Linked DNA regions of Homo sapiens: regions 1, 2, 3 and 5 are each linked to region 4. The links are contacts of gene promoters, found by promoter capture Hi-C in blood cells and fetal thymus (Javierre and others, 2016). All regions are on one chromosome and are shown on one strand. The core of a region is centred on a gene start or on the middle of the fragment in contact, and the rest is flanking DNA. Distances in the headings are between cores, read along the strand shown. Region 1 overlaps MTM1 (myotubularin 1). Region 2 has its middle 45 kb from the start of MTM1. Region 3 has its middle 39 kb from the start of MIR2114. Region 4 holds the start of MAMLD1 (mastermind like domain containing 1). Region 5 overlaps MTM1 (myotubularin 1).

Region 1 (2,700 bases), core at 40-2,539, 250 kb after region 4:
CTCCAGCCTGGGTGACAGAGTGAGACTCATCTAAAAAAAAAAAAAAATTAAGTGTGGCTGGTGGTGTGTGCCTGTGGTCTCAGCTACTTGGAAGGCTGAGGTGGGAGGATCCCTTGAGCCTGGGACGTCAAGGCTGCAGTGAGCCACTGTACTCCAGCCTGAGCAACAGAGCAAGAACTTATCTCTTAAAAAAAAAAAAAAAGGGGGGAAAGAAAAGAAAAACTTTGTAGCCCCAAAAGGTTTTTAAAGAACAAAAAACCAAATAACCCTTAAAAATTTTTTTTCTTTATTTTTCAAACTTATCTATCACAATATGAAAGAAAAGTTTGGATTAAAAATGGTGTAGCCCTTCATGTCTTTGTCCCTGTAAATAGATATTTCATGTTATTGTAGTCACCGTGTGTGTTGTATGCTGCTGTTTCCCACTTAAACTTACTTTTCCATGTACCATAATTATTTTAAAAACTGTATACTTGTTCCAGCGAGTTGAGTATAATTTTTTCTACCCTGTTATCTACCTCTAGCTCCATTGAACATCTTCCTTCTGTTAAGTGATAGCCATAAGTTCTTAGTAGCGAAATTATTGGATCAAAGAGTAGGACAATTTTTATGGCACTTTTAATGTGTGTTTTCAGGCATTGCCTCGAGTCTCAACCCTGCCCTATACTTACTAAACAAGTTATTGAAGCTTTGAAAAACTTAGGAAATGGGGATACTTCACCTATATCCTGGAACGGTTGTGAGGATAAAATGAGATGATGCGTGCAAAGCCCCTAATGTAGTACCTGGCACAGAAGAGAGGTATTTCCTACATGGCAGCTGCTGTGATGATCTCCTGGTGATGATTGTGCTATTACTTGACTAACATGATTCCATCATGCCAGCAGTCTTCTAGACCACTTGCACCCAGCGTTGGATAGCAAATGATGGAGAAGCCTTGCTGTGCATTAAGGCCCTTCTGCTTTGGGAAATGCACGCATGCCAGAGACAAGCACCATTTCCAGATGCTTGGTCTCTAGTGGGGGAATACATATGTGTAAATTCGTGGTAACAAGGCAGAGTGAAGCAAGTGGTTAACAGCAGTCGGAATCAAGTGCTATGGAACTTCTGAGGAAAAAGTGATGAATTCTGCCTGATCTAATTGGGAAGCAAGGCCTCATTAGAGGTGATGCTTGCTGAGCCAAGGCGAAAGTCATGGGGACAATTTTGGTAGCTGGGAAAGACAGATCATTCTAGGCAAAGGGAACACCCTGAGCAAAGCAGGTGGCTTGATCGTAGATGAAGCATCTGAAGAATGAAGAAGTTTACTTAGTTGGAGTGCAGAATATCGTGGGAGAGAATCCCACAGAAACAGGCTGGAAGTGATATCACGGACGTCCTGGAAATGTGTACCTAGGAGTTTAGTCTTTACTCCAGAGGCAGTGCACAATGGCAAATGTTTGGGGATGCATTTTGATTGCATAATTGACTGTTTTAATGCTTGCTCTGTCATGTGTGATCTGTATCATATTTTTGTTCATAAAGTGCTAAAAGGGCCAAGGTAAAATCACTCTGAAAGCATATGGTTGTTTTTATATGTTTTTTGATGTTTTAATTATACTGACAGAAATACTGACTACTGTATTTTTGTCCATTACAGGATTCTTCTCTAATACTTGATGTTCCTCTGGGTGTGATCTCGAGAATTGAAAAAATGGGAGGCGCGACAAGTAGAGGAGAAAATTCCTATGGTCTAGATATTACTTGTAAAGTAAGAGATTCGATACTTTCTTATGCAAAGAACAAGGCACGTTAGTGTTGAATGATAGTAGACAATTAATGTGGATTTGAAAAAAAAAAATCAAAATCTCATGTTCATCTAAGGCCCTGGAAATGGTTCTTCCCTTAAGAACAAGCTTTTCAAAAGTGCCTGGGAAATAGTGCCCACGTGAGGGACCCACTGCAATCACCAAATACAAGGACTCGAGGAACTGGTCAGTTTGTTAGCTTGACTGAGTGGGAAGAGAACTTTATAGATAAAATTTCTTAAACCACTTTAGTTTTTGCTCCAGCTTGCTCCTGGCGCCCCTTCATGTCATATGTTAACATGAAGGAAGGAGGAATAGAAGAGATTTTGCCCTCTGTTAACGGGATGTGTCCTTACCTCTAATAACCTTCGTAACTTTTGCTTAGGTCATTTTCAGAGGTACACTTTGCTGTGATAGTAACCATGTATTGAACATTTGTGTCCATCCAAACACATGCTAGGTGCTTTGCATTTGATCCTCAAGTGCAACCCTCTGAGATGGCGTGATGGGAGCCCGAGGCTCCAAAGAGTTGGGTAACTTTGCTAAGATAATTTCTGAAGGCTGGGACCCAAAAGGTGGGGATGTGTTCAAGCGTCTCGTGTGACTATGAACCACCAGTCCAGTGCAGGGCTTTGCAGACTTTTTCTGTGAAGGGCTCAGTAGCAAATATTTTAGGCTTTGTGGGCCACATCAGATTTCTGTTGTGTATTCTTCTCTGTGTGTTGTTTTTTCAACCCTTTTGAAGTGTTAAAAAAAAAAAAAAACAGTCTTAATTTGAAGACCTGGGCTGAAGTTTGCTGGCCCCTGGCCAATCCAAGTCGTTCATTGTATTGATAGAGAAGTGAGGCCTTTGCTGTGTGAGATTACTTGCCTTGTGTTGCCTAGGGAGCCAGCGGAAGAGCCAGAACCAAAA
Region 2 (2,700 bases), core at 13-2,512, 160 kb after region 4:
ACCATGTGTTGGAAGTCTGGTTTCCACTCCCCAAACTAGGCTGGAATTCTTTCCAGGCCAACCTGTACCAATTTGAGAGCCTCAAGCATCACCTTTGTATGAGTCTGTTCTCACATTGCTATAAAGAACTACCTGAGACTGGGTAATTTATGAATAAAAGAGGTTTAATTGACTCACAGTATTCCACAGGCTGTACAGGAAGCATGGCTGGGAGGCCTCAGAAAACTTACAATCACGGTGGAAGGTGAAGGGGAAGCAAGCACGTCTTATGATGGTGGAGTAGGAGAGAGAGAGCAAAGGGGGAAATGCTACACACTTTCTTTCTTTCTTTCTTTCTTTCTTTTTTTTGAGATGGAGTCTCGCTCTTGCTGCTCAGGCTGGAGTGCAATGGCCCCCGATCTCGGCTCACTGCAACCTCCGCCTCCCGGGTTCAAGCGATTCTCCTGCCTCAGCCTCCCAAGTAGCTGGGATTATGGTGGTGTGCGCCACCATGCCCGGCTAATTTTGTATTTTTAGTAGAGACGGGGTTTTGCCATGTTGGCCAGGCTGGTTTCAAACCCCTGACCTCATGTGATCTGCCTGCCTCGGCCTCCCAAAGTGCTGGGATTATAGGCATGAGCCACCACGCCTGGCCCAGTGCCACACACTTTCAAACAACCAGATATCATGAGAACTCACTATCTCGAGAACAGCAAGGGAGAAATCTGCGCCCATATTCCAATCACTTCCCACCAGGTCCCTCCTACAATATCAGGAATTACAATTCAACATGACATTTGGGTGGGGACACAAAGCCAAACCATATCAACCTTCCTGTTCACATCTAAAGGTCCAAAAGGAGTCTCAGGCTGTGACTGGATCTCCACTGATTCACCACGGAAGCTTAACCCAATCTTGGCTCCTGAATATTCCCAGATACCCTCAAAAGAAAACTCTCAGGAAAACACCACACCTCCTCATTCATCCTCCTCAGAAATGCTGAGAGAGGGCCTCAGTAACTTGACCCTCCAACAGAAAGTCTGTCCCCAGAGCAGGACAGTGAAGATAAAATCCAACAAAAGAGGCCATTAGATGAAACATTGTTACTTTGAATCCTTACTCAGCATTTATATTATCAGAATCAATTGATATTTAATTTTGAATATCATCATTTTATGAATTGTTCTTTGAACCTTAGAGTGAGGAAACCACCCTCTCATCCTTCCTCCTCAGGAATGCCAGTTAAGGGCTTCAGTAACTTGACCATCAGCCCTACTACTAACTAACTACAGTTTCCCTGTACTAGAAGAGCTATTTCAACAGCAGGACTTAGAAAAGATCCAACGAAAAAGGCAGCAGAAATGGGACTTGCTGTTTCTCCCCAAAAGAGAACTCTGAGGGGGCCTGAGATTTGGAGTTAAAGATTTGTCTTGCTCATAAGATGGAGATCAGACTGTATACAGGTATGGGTGTCCATATCCCATTGCAAAAATAACTTCCCAGGTACTGAAAATGATGAAGAATCCGCAAGGAGCAACAAGATGCAGAATTATGCCAAGGAATCTTACTGGCAGCAGGTTTGAGTCAACATCAGTGCCAGTACCAAAACTTTCCACTAGCAATCTTAGGATCACTATGGGGAAAGCTGCTAGGTTTCTGAAATTGAAGCTTTTTCTCTCCTCAGATGTCTTTCTCCCTTCCATGTTATCTACAATTTAAAGTTATCTACAGAGCTCGGATGCCTCTTGGATTGTAATGTGCTTTTTTCCATTTCATGGATTGACCATCCTTTGGCACATCACATGTGTATATTCAGATCGTAAACTCAATAATGAGATGAAACCGAGCATTATGAGTATGAAGCAGAAGATTGTTGGGGCAAAGGGATGTGGAAATCGATGTTAGTGATTTTACACTGTATCGTTAGGTGACACACAATTGCAATAAGGTAAATCTTCTGCTCCATACCAGTCATCTTTCCATTTTCAGCACCAAATGGATGTGTTTAAAGGAACGTGTCATTAAAGTTCAGTTTTGCTAAAAAAGAAAGTGGCGGGAGCCCTGCACACATACCTGAGACCCACCAAAGTGCAAGCCCCCTCCTCCTTGTTGCTTCTCCCTGCCCAGGGTTCCTGCCTTGCCCACCCCAGCACTCATTGCATTGCTTCAATGTGCTTTTCCAGTGATAAGAAGGAAAGTGGCACTATTGCTTGTTCTCCAAATCATCCCTGAGGCAAGGGTGCCTGAAGAAGCCAGGCTAGGCTCCTTGCTTGAAGAAATTGGAGGTGAAGATAACGTGGCAAGACACAAGCACACACACACACACACACACACACACAGAATGATATCTTTATAAGAGTTCTTGCCACCTGTGGTAACACAGTCTGCCCATCAGGAAGAGGGTACCCAAGGCTGTTACCAGAGGTTGTCCCTGGGTGGGGGAAGTGGGGTCCCAATTTACTGGCGTGCGTTCCTGAAATTGGGGCACTCTGCCCTTCCCCGCCCCGGCCCTGCACCCAGAAGGTTTTATTTGTCCCAGAGTTAGCTGACCTGGCCCATATCTGAAAGGAGCCCAGGCTGGGCCTTCATGGGGTTATTGATTTCGGCACAAGGCTTTCCAAATCCCAGACTGCAGGAGGCTTTTACCTACCCTGACCCCATATGCCTGGCTTCAGCTCCAGCCCACAGGCCACCTCCACAAGGACAGGCCAGGTCCGTTTC
Region 3 (2,700 bases), core at 134-2,633, 170 kb before region 4:
ATCTTTTTTCTTTTTTTTCCTTTTCTAGTTTCCGGAGGATACCTACATTCCTTGGCTCATGACCCCACATCACTCCAACCTCTGCTTCTGTCATTACATCTCCTTCTTTGACTCTAACCCTCCTCCATCCCACTTAGAAGAATCATTGTTGATTACGTTTAGGGCAAATCCTGAAAATCCAAAATGACCTCCCCATCCCAAGATCCTTAAGTCAATCACATTTGCAAAGTCCTTTTTGTCATGTCAGGTAACATATTCACAGCTTCTGGGGATTATGATGTGAGCATCATGGGGGCCAATTATTCAGCCCTACTACATATGAAAAGAGTTCTTATGTTTTCACGAATAAAGAAAGATGATAATGGCCATCTTCTTTTGAGTGCTTACCATCCATCATATATTTTCTCATTTAACTTTTGTGGACTCTAAGAGGGTATGTTCCATTCCTATCCTTCAAGTTGCCAAAAACAACCCAGCTAGGAAGTGGCAGGGCTAGGTAGCACTCCTATTCCCAGGGCTGTGCATTTGTGTCAAATCTCCTTCTGCCTCCCCCTTATAAAGACACATGATGTTGCATTTAGAGCCTACCCAAATGGATGAAGATGTGAGGATAACATCCTCATCTCAAAATTATTAATTTATTCACATCTGCAGAGATGCTATTTCCATATAAGGTAACATTTAGAAGTTCCAGATTTGGGGCCATTATCCAGCCTACAATAGTTTTCATCATCACCTAGGTCTTACAGCAGGGTATTCACATGGCTGTAACTCTTCTTTAAACACCTACTAAAGTTAATGCCATATCTGGATTCATCTTAAAAATCTTACCCCTTGACTCCTGAATTCACTAACCCAGAGGTCTCATCTTTTTGCCGTAATTTTGAGAGATAATTTTCGGTTTTATTTATTTTTTTTTTTAGACAAGGTCTCACTCTGTCACCCAGGTTGGAGGGCTGTGGTGCAGTGGCATGATCATGGCTCATTGCAGCCTCAAACTCCTGGGCTCAGGCAGTCCTTCCACCTCAGCCTCCCAAGTGGCTAGGACTACAGGCACGTGCCACTGCACCCCACTATTTTTTTTTTTATTTTTTGAAGAGATGTGATTTCAACATGTTGCCCAGGCTGATCTCAAACTCCCGGCTTCAAGTGATCCTCCCCCATTGGCTTCCCAAAGTGCTGAGATTATAGGCATGAGCCACTGCACCCAGGCAAGAGCCAATTTTCAATTATCTATGGAAGTGATATATTAACTGATATTTGCCAAACGTAAATTCATGTTTGCATTCACAGAGTGAATGGGGAAGAACTGTGGAGACAGATACCCCAACTTGTGTCCTCACTCTGAGATGACCTCTTCAAAGAGTGTTCATGGCCAGTTCAGGAGGCAGCATGCAGAATGGCAAGGTAACTGAGCTTGGAGTCAGAGAAGCTGAGTTTTGACACAGCTCTATTACTGCCAGCTGAGTATGACCAATCACTTAACCTTTCTGGGCCTCAATTTCTTTGTCTGTGAAACAGGACTATTGATATCTGTGTTGCTTACCTCACAGGGCAGAGGTCAAGTATGCATGTATGCTCTTTTTCCATCTGCAAGAGCATGGCTCAAGCTGGGTGAACAGTGAGGGCCATGTAGTCATGTACTCCCAGGCAGCAAGTGGTAGTGAGGCCTGAAGCCTGGGCAGGCCCTATAGGAGGACTCAGGCCACTGGGAGACATCAAGAAAGGCCTTGACAAGGTGTGTGTGCTCACATACCACCTGTTTCCCTCAACAGCCCAGGCCTGGGGCCTGCCAGCTAAGATTTGCTGCTCGCATTGAGCCTCATAAATGAATAAAGTAGGTAATTTAATATCATTGTGACAACTACAAGAGAGATTTTGCATGTCTGCTTTGCAGCATAAAGTTTCCTTAGAGCCAACTTTCAGACTTGGACAATTTCTATATTCTTTCCTACCTCTACCTCCCCAGAGAGGCAGGGATGTCAGACAGAAATTAAGAAAATTCTGAATTCCTCAGGAAGATTACTGTGTTTGGATTTTTTTGAAAGAATTGAATGAACATTTTGTCAACATGGTATCAGGGGAAAGAGGAGTGGCATATTCAGCACTATCTTGCATCCTTGAGAAGATAAAGGCAGACTTTGAGCACGGAGGATTCTTGTCTGTTGACCTCTACTCTAAGGCACCCCTGTGGACCTCTCCTCCACTCAATCTAAAGTGGATGTAAAAGTCTATCCTCATCTGGACAGGCCAAGTGGGCCCTCCATGCTGTCTTTCTCTAGCGTCATGCCCCGAGGCTCCAATGACTATATAAAGGGGCTGCTTCTCCAGCCCAAGCCCAGCAGCCCTAACCTCTCCCACTTTACACTGGCTCCTGTTTTCATCCTTCGTCCCTCCCAGCCACTTCCATGCCTTTGATAGCACATGGACTCAGCATCCTCAGAGTACATCAGTGCAGATCGTCAGATAGAGTGCCAGGGGGGTAAACATTTCAGTCATTCAGAACCCATTCCACTTGGAGCACATGGTATGTCAGGGACCCAGTCTATATTATCCCCAGGCGAAGTCTGGAACACAGAAATCCAGAGATTCCTAAACCCACCCAATAAACTTCCCCAGCCCTGACTGAGGTGTATTCCTATTTGCCCACCCTGTGCTCACCTACTGCCATCCCCCATCAACAGATATGCCAATCTTTTT
Region 4 (2,700 bases), core at 72-2,571:
TGGCGGGCGACGCCGACAGCGTCCGCGCTAAGGGTGGGGGACTGGGAAGTGGGGAGTGGGGCACTCGGCCGGGATGGAGAGAATGCAGTTCACTAACTGCCACCTGAGAGCCCTGGTCCCCGCTGCCGCCACAGCGGGTCTGTTTGGCAGTCAGGGCGCGAGCTGGTGAGCGGATGCGTGGGCGGAGGGACTGGCGCTACCCACCCAGCAGCCACCCACTGCAGGTGAGTGCCCCTCCCAGGGCGAGGGGAGGAGAAGGGCCTGGCCGCTAGCCCTAGGGTCAGGCTCTGGTGAAAATGGGAAGGGGGATGGGGGCTGAATAGGCTACTTTGTGATGAGACTCCCGTCCCTGTGACACTTCAGGGTCCTCTGGGGATCTGTCATTCCTCTTGCAAGCTCTCTTGTTCTCTGGTCCCTCTCCTCCTCTCCTTATTTCCTCCTCTCCTCTCCTCTCCTCTCATCTCCTCTCCTCTCCTCTCCCTTCATCGTGTCTCTACCTCTATCTCCGCCGGTGCCTCTCTCGGTATCTGTCTCTCAGTCTCTGCCTTCTCTGTGTCTCGTACGGTCTCCTGTCTTTCTTGGTCTCTCGGTCCTGAGCGCTCTCTCGCCCTGTCACTGATGACCGCTGGCTTTTGGCTCTCCGTGCTCGCTCTTCGTGTGTCCCGGCCACGCACGGCTCACCAGCTCGTTTTCCCCAGACGCGGAAAGTCTACCTTCGGCGTGCGGGTTTCCCAAGCGCGCCGGGCCCCGCCTGCGGCCCTCCGGCGGGCTCTGTCTGCTGGAGGCGCTCCGCTAACCCTGCTGTCGCCTCTTTCCACCAGCGCACCGCCTAGGCAAGCCAGCTGACGCCGGGGGCACAGACCACCCTCCACTGAGTGCGGAGCAGCCAAGGTGAGTGCACCGATGCCCCTTCCGCCCCTCCGATCCCTCCCCAGCTGCCCTGGTTCGAGCCGACTGGAGAAATGAGGCTGCAACAGCGAAGCCAGCCTGCGGCCGCTTTCTCCTCTAAAGACTGGTGGGAGGGCCCGGGAGGCCCCTCGGGCGGCCGCAGCTCTTTGGCTGCCCGCTGCCCCATCCCGGAGTGGAAACCCTGAGTTTCCAGGCTTCGGGCTGGCGGGGTCGCGGGCAGGGCAGCGCGGCTTCCCCTTTAAGGCCGGAGCCGCTCGTCGCCGTGAGTGTGAGGGTGTGTGAGTGTGCGGCGTGCGTGTCTCCTCCTCCCCGAGTGACACAGCAGTGAGAAATGCCTATCAGTAACTTAAACCCCCGAAACTCCACCTTCCGGGCGCGCGGCGCGGAGCCGGGCGGTGGGAATGGAGCGAGCAGATTGAGGCCGCCACTGCAGCGCCGCCAGCATGAACTTGGCCGCGAGCTGAAGCGGCCGGCGGCGGGCGGGCGCGGGGGCACCGGCCGCTAGCCAGGGGGTGATCTGCAACAGGGCTGGGTTCCTTGGCGGCCGCCTGAGTCCAGGCTGCCCGCGCCGGCGGCCGCCCGCCCCTCGGACACTGCCCCCGCCGCCGCCGGAGCTCTGCAGCACGGTAAGGCTGAGGGCGGGTGCAGGAAGTCTGACTGTTCTGGGGGTTCCGGGGTACACTTGTAGCCCCCAGTTATGGTCCCCATCGCTGAGGATCGGGGTCCCAGGGGTGCTTCGAGTCGGTAGACCCTAAAGTTTGCTCTGAGCACACGGCCCACCTGGCGCTGCGGGCGGCCACCCCCTTCTCGAACCAGCCCGGCTGGGCTGGGCGCAGCTCGAAACGCCGGAGACCACGGCCTTTGGCTCGGCGCCCGTCGGGCGTCTGAAATCCGGCGGGGACAGCCACGTACCGGGGAGGAAAGGTAGAAGGGCGCAAGCTCCTCGGGCTACGCTGGGCTACTGGGAGGCTCCCACTCTGTCCCAGCACCCCCGGGTCGCTTGCAGCCTGGGTGTCACCGGCGACGGTGCCTTCACATGCCAGCTGCCTGAGCCCAGGCCAGTAGGCAGTGGGCGCTGGATGAAGGATTTCCCCACCCCAACGCTGTTTGCCGCCTCTGAGCGAGAGTGTGGAGTGTGCGCGCCGAATCCGCTGCCCTGCACTCCCTCCCCTGCCAACTCCTGGGAAGCGCAGCCCGGAGCTGAGCTGGTGTTCAGGGCAGCCCGGACTGGGTTCCTGCGGAGCAGCCCCGGCGCCCCTGCGTCAGAGTCCGCGCTTCAGGTTCCCCAGCATCCGCGCGACGACAGAGCTGGGCGCCCGGCGCCGGCTAGCGCGGGCGGGAAGCCCCCCGGAGCGCCGCCAAATACTTTTCTCGGCCAGTTGGCTTGGCCAGGCTCCGTCCCAATGCAGTGTGTCCGAAGCCTCCTGGAAAGCTGGAGATGTCGTCTGATTCTGATCCGTGATTAAATTCGGACTGAGCAGACACTAATAGGATTAGCCTGCCAGAAAGCTCGGCCCTGAAGCCATCGGAACCTGTGCAAACACGCGCCTCGGGCTGGAGCATTCACTCCCGCCCCGCCGCGCTTCTGCAGCTGGGTGCGGCTGACCTGGGCACCCGGAGTGTGGGTGTGTGTGAGCGGGCGGGAGCACAGCGTGGCTGGGGGACGTGGGGAGAAGGGGCTGCTTTTGCTGGGGTGGCTTGTCGTTGTTGTTTGGCACCACGGTGCCCCCCGGGGGCGCGGTCCCCACGGTGAACGTGCTGCTCACGGGTAGGCAAACCCAGGCCGGCTCC
Region 5 (2,700 bases), core at 109-2,608, 230 kb after region 4:
AATGAAATACTGCTGAAAAAAACTTTTTGCCCAAACAGATGTTAGTGATGTGCCTCAAATGTCATCAGACTAGCACCTGCAACACATCTTCGTATTAATCCACTAGGGCAGCTGAATAACCTGAAAGACAATGGGTAGCTATGGCAAATTAGGCTCTGCGAACTCGCCTGCAGGTTGTAGTGGTTAATATTACTGTGCCCACCTAGCAGAGCTGTGGAAGTGATTGAATGAGGCACATGCTTGGGAATACCTCTAAAGCCAGGAAGCCTAGAGAAATAGTAAAGTGATGTGAAGAATTTGTACAAATGGCTCCTAAGACTTTTGCCAGCTCAAAAGTTCTCTGACAGACCACTCTTACCTCTTATTAGGACAGGGATCTTAGTAAATGTGAGGAAGTAAAAAGAGAGGAAGGGTCTTAGTGAAATAGGAAACGCAATAGGTAATCAATGATTTTCGGGCATTGTAATAGGATTCTGGCTAATGGCTGTGCTGTTATTCAGTTAAGCCTCTGTGGAATTGAAGTTTTCCTTCCTACTCTTCCCAAAAGATGGCTGAATATGAAAAAAAGAAAGCTGCTACAGTGTATGTGTATCTATAGAACACACTTAATGTTTACTTTTTATCACTTTCCCGAAAGCTGTTAACTTTAAAGTGCTTGGAAATGTAGTTTAAAAATTAATATTATTGAAAAGCATGCTAGCATTATTTAATACTAGAAGTTGACACATCTAATTAATGTTGGTGCCAGATTGTAACTTTTTTGTTTGAATTTTTGTGCCAGTTTTCCCAAATGCTAAATCTCTAATGCTTTTTCTTTAAAAAACATATTTCTAGTGGCTTGTATTCCTAGTTGCTTAAAAACAGTGTGTAAATGTAACGTCATTACTTCTGATGCATCTGTTTTGTTTCTAGACGTCTCGAGATGGAGTCAATCGAGATCTCACTGAGGCTGTTCCTCGACTTCCAGGAGAAACACTAATCACTGGTAAGGACCTGCTGACATAAGATTTGCATAACTTGAGGAGAAGTCTGGCAGGATCAGGTGGCTTCAGTCCCGCTTACTCTTTAGCAGTCAGGCTTAGACAAATAGGCTACCTTTGTTTAGAAGCGTTAACACAGAACTCTCTGCATCCCTTTCTTGATTAAAGAGTTCTTTTGAGAGCTTCATGCTCACAAGGGTAGTGATATTCTTGTGTCTGTACCAAAGACTGAGAATGATTTAGGGGAAAAAAATGTGGATTATCTCTTGAAAGTCTCTCATTGGAGCCATAAGCTCTCATGGTTTAAGGTTTTAAGAGCAAAATGATTTCCAGTCAATGATGCATGCTTTAAAATGATAAACTTAAAGGCTTGAAGGCTTAATCATTCTCCTCTTTGAAATATAGGAGAACATATTGCTTTAAAATATCTTTCATTCGTCAGAAAATGGAAGTTAGTATTTAGGTAATATTTTGATGTTATTTTTCATGATAAACGTATACTAAAAGGAAGGGATCAACTTTGGAAGGGCTAGATCACTACGGCTTAAGAATATAGAAGCATCTGACAGCTTCTAAGCCAAGTGCTAATGTTCTGGGCAAATTTTATATGTGGATTAACACCCTCCTTTCAGACTTCAATGTATTTGAAGCAGATGTGATGACCATTGTTCCAGGGAACCTTTTGATTAATTCAGATCTGGGTTGTTTAGCTTAAATGGCTAAAACCTCGTGCTAATTAGATGGCGGGCCTAAGCGAGGTACCTTTGGGAATTAGCCATACACCATGAGAAATTCTCTTCTGAGTCCACAAACTTGCACACATTCTAGTCTTGAAATGGAGACCAGTGGGATGTGTTCATCCCAATTTCTGGATAAGAGCAAAGAAGATATTTTACTTTTGATCGTCTTCATATATGAAGTTTTGGTGGTAGGTATCAGCGCCTGAACCTTAACCCAGGTGGTAACTAATGGAACTAGCATAAAGTAGCTTTATTAAGTATTTTTTATTTAGAACTTGAAGAGAAAGGGATTTCAAAATCATTACGAGTCATTAACACATTCAAGGACATCCCTGAAAGATGAGAGGCATATTTCTATTATAATTAATTATTCTGATTTAGCTTCTCCTTATGTTTATTCTACCAAAGATGTACTATTCTTTCGGCCACCTGTTTTATATCACTTCAGTGTTTGAAATGAACCTAGCCAAACTCTATTCTAGACTATTAAAAAGAAAAAGGTTTGGTGCGGTGGCTCACACCTGTAATCCCAGCACTTTGAGAGGCCAAAGTAGGAGGATCACTTGAGGCCAGGAATTGGAGACCAGCCTGGGCAACACAGCAAAACTTCATCTTTACTAAAAATTAAAAAACGAGCTGGGTGCAGTGGCGCATACCCATAGTCCCAGCTACTCAGGAGGCTGAGGTGGGAGGATTGCTTGAGCCTGAGAGGTTGAGGCTGCAGTGAGCCATGATTGTGCCACTGAACTCCAGCTTGGGCAATAGAGCAAGACCCTATCTCAAAAACAAAAAAAGACAGAATAAACTGGAAAGATTTCTACTGCTGACATTTATTTATTAAAAACATGATTATGTTTCTGTGGTTAGAGATTGGTAGCCTCATCTCTCAGTCTAGTGGTTAGTCCGTGAGACTGTCCCAGGTGAGTTGCCGTCCTCTGGCTGAAGTAGCTCAAATAGTTACCTTTACAACCACCTTAGGG

The links. The method cuts DNA at HindIII sites, captures the fragments that hold promoters and counts their contacts. A CHiCAGO score of 5 or more calls a contact.
Region 1: a fragment that was not itself captured here is called in contact with the fragment with the promoter of MAMLD1 in region 4 in 1 of 17 cell types (activated CD4 T cells); the score reaches 5.5 in activated CD4 T cells.
Region 2: a fragment that was not itself captured here is called in contact with the fragment with the promoter of MAMLD1 in region 4 in 1 of 17 cell types (activated CD4 T cells); the score reaches 5.2 in activated CD4 T cells.
Region 3: a fragment that was not itself captured here is called in contact with the fragment with the promoter of MAMLD1 in region 4 in 1 of 17 cell types (M1 macrophages); the score reaches 5.6 in M1 macrophages.
Region 5: a contact is called between a fragment that was not itself captured here and the fragment with the promoter of MAMLD1 in region 4, in 1 of 17 cell types (non-activated CD4 T cells). The highest score is 6.4, in non-activated CD4 T cells.

What each region holds. Positions count from the first base shown.
Region 1 is chrX:150,612,950-150,615,649 of GRCh38, forward strand. It overlaps MTM1 (myotubularin 1), which reads left to right. Exons shown (of 15, transcript NM_000252.3): 5 at 1,640-1,750. Among named protein-coding and RNA genes, the nearest start is that of MTM1, 46 kb to the left of the region's middle. The HindIII fragment of the contact is 1,207 bases long and covers 687-1,893 here.
Region 2 is chrX:150,522,683-150,525,382 of GRCh38, forward strand. No RefSeq gene overlaps it. Among named protein-coding and RNA genes, the nearest start is that of MTM1, 45 kb to the right of the region's middle. The HindIII fragment of the contact is 765 bases long and covers 881-1,645 here.
Region 3 is chrX:150,187,265-150,189,964 of GRCh38, forward strand. No RefSeq gene overlaps it. Among named protein-coding and RNA genes, the nearest start is that of MIR2114, 39 kb to the right of the region's middle. The HindIII fragment of the contact is 3,210 bases long and covers 1-2,700 here.
Region 4 is chrX:150,361,996-150,364,695 of GRCh38, forward strand. MAMLD1 (mastermind like domain containing 1) reads left to right here and starts at 1,322. Exons shown (of 8, transcript NM_005491.5): 1 at 1,322-1,535. The HindIII fragment of the contact is 7,703 bases long and covers 1-2,700 here.
Region 5 is chrX:150,595,586-150,598,285 of GRCh38, forward strand. It overlaps MTM1 (myotubularin 1), which reads left to right. Exons shown (of 15, transcript NM_000252.3): 3 at 913-985. Among named protein-coding and RNA genes, the nearest start is that of MTM1, 28 kb to the left of the region's middle. The HindIII fragment of the contact is 6,867 bases long and covers 1-2,700 here.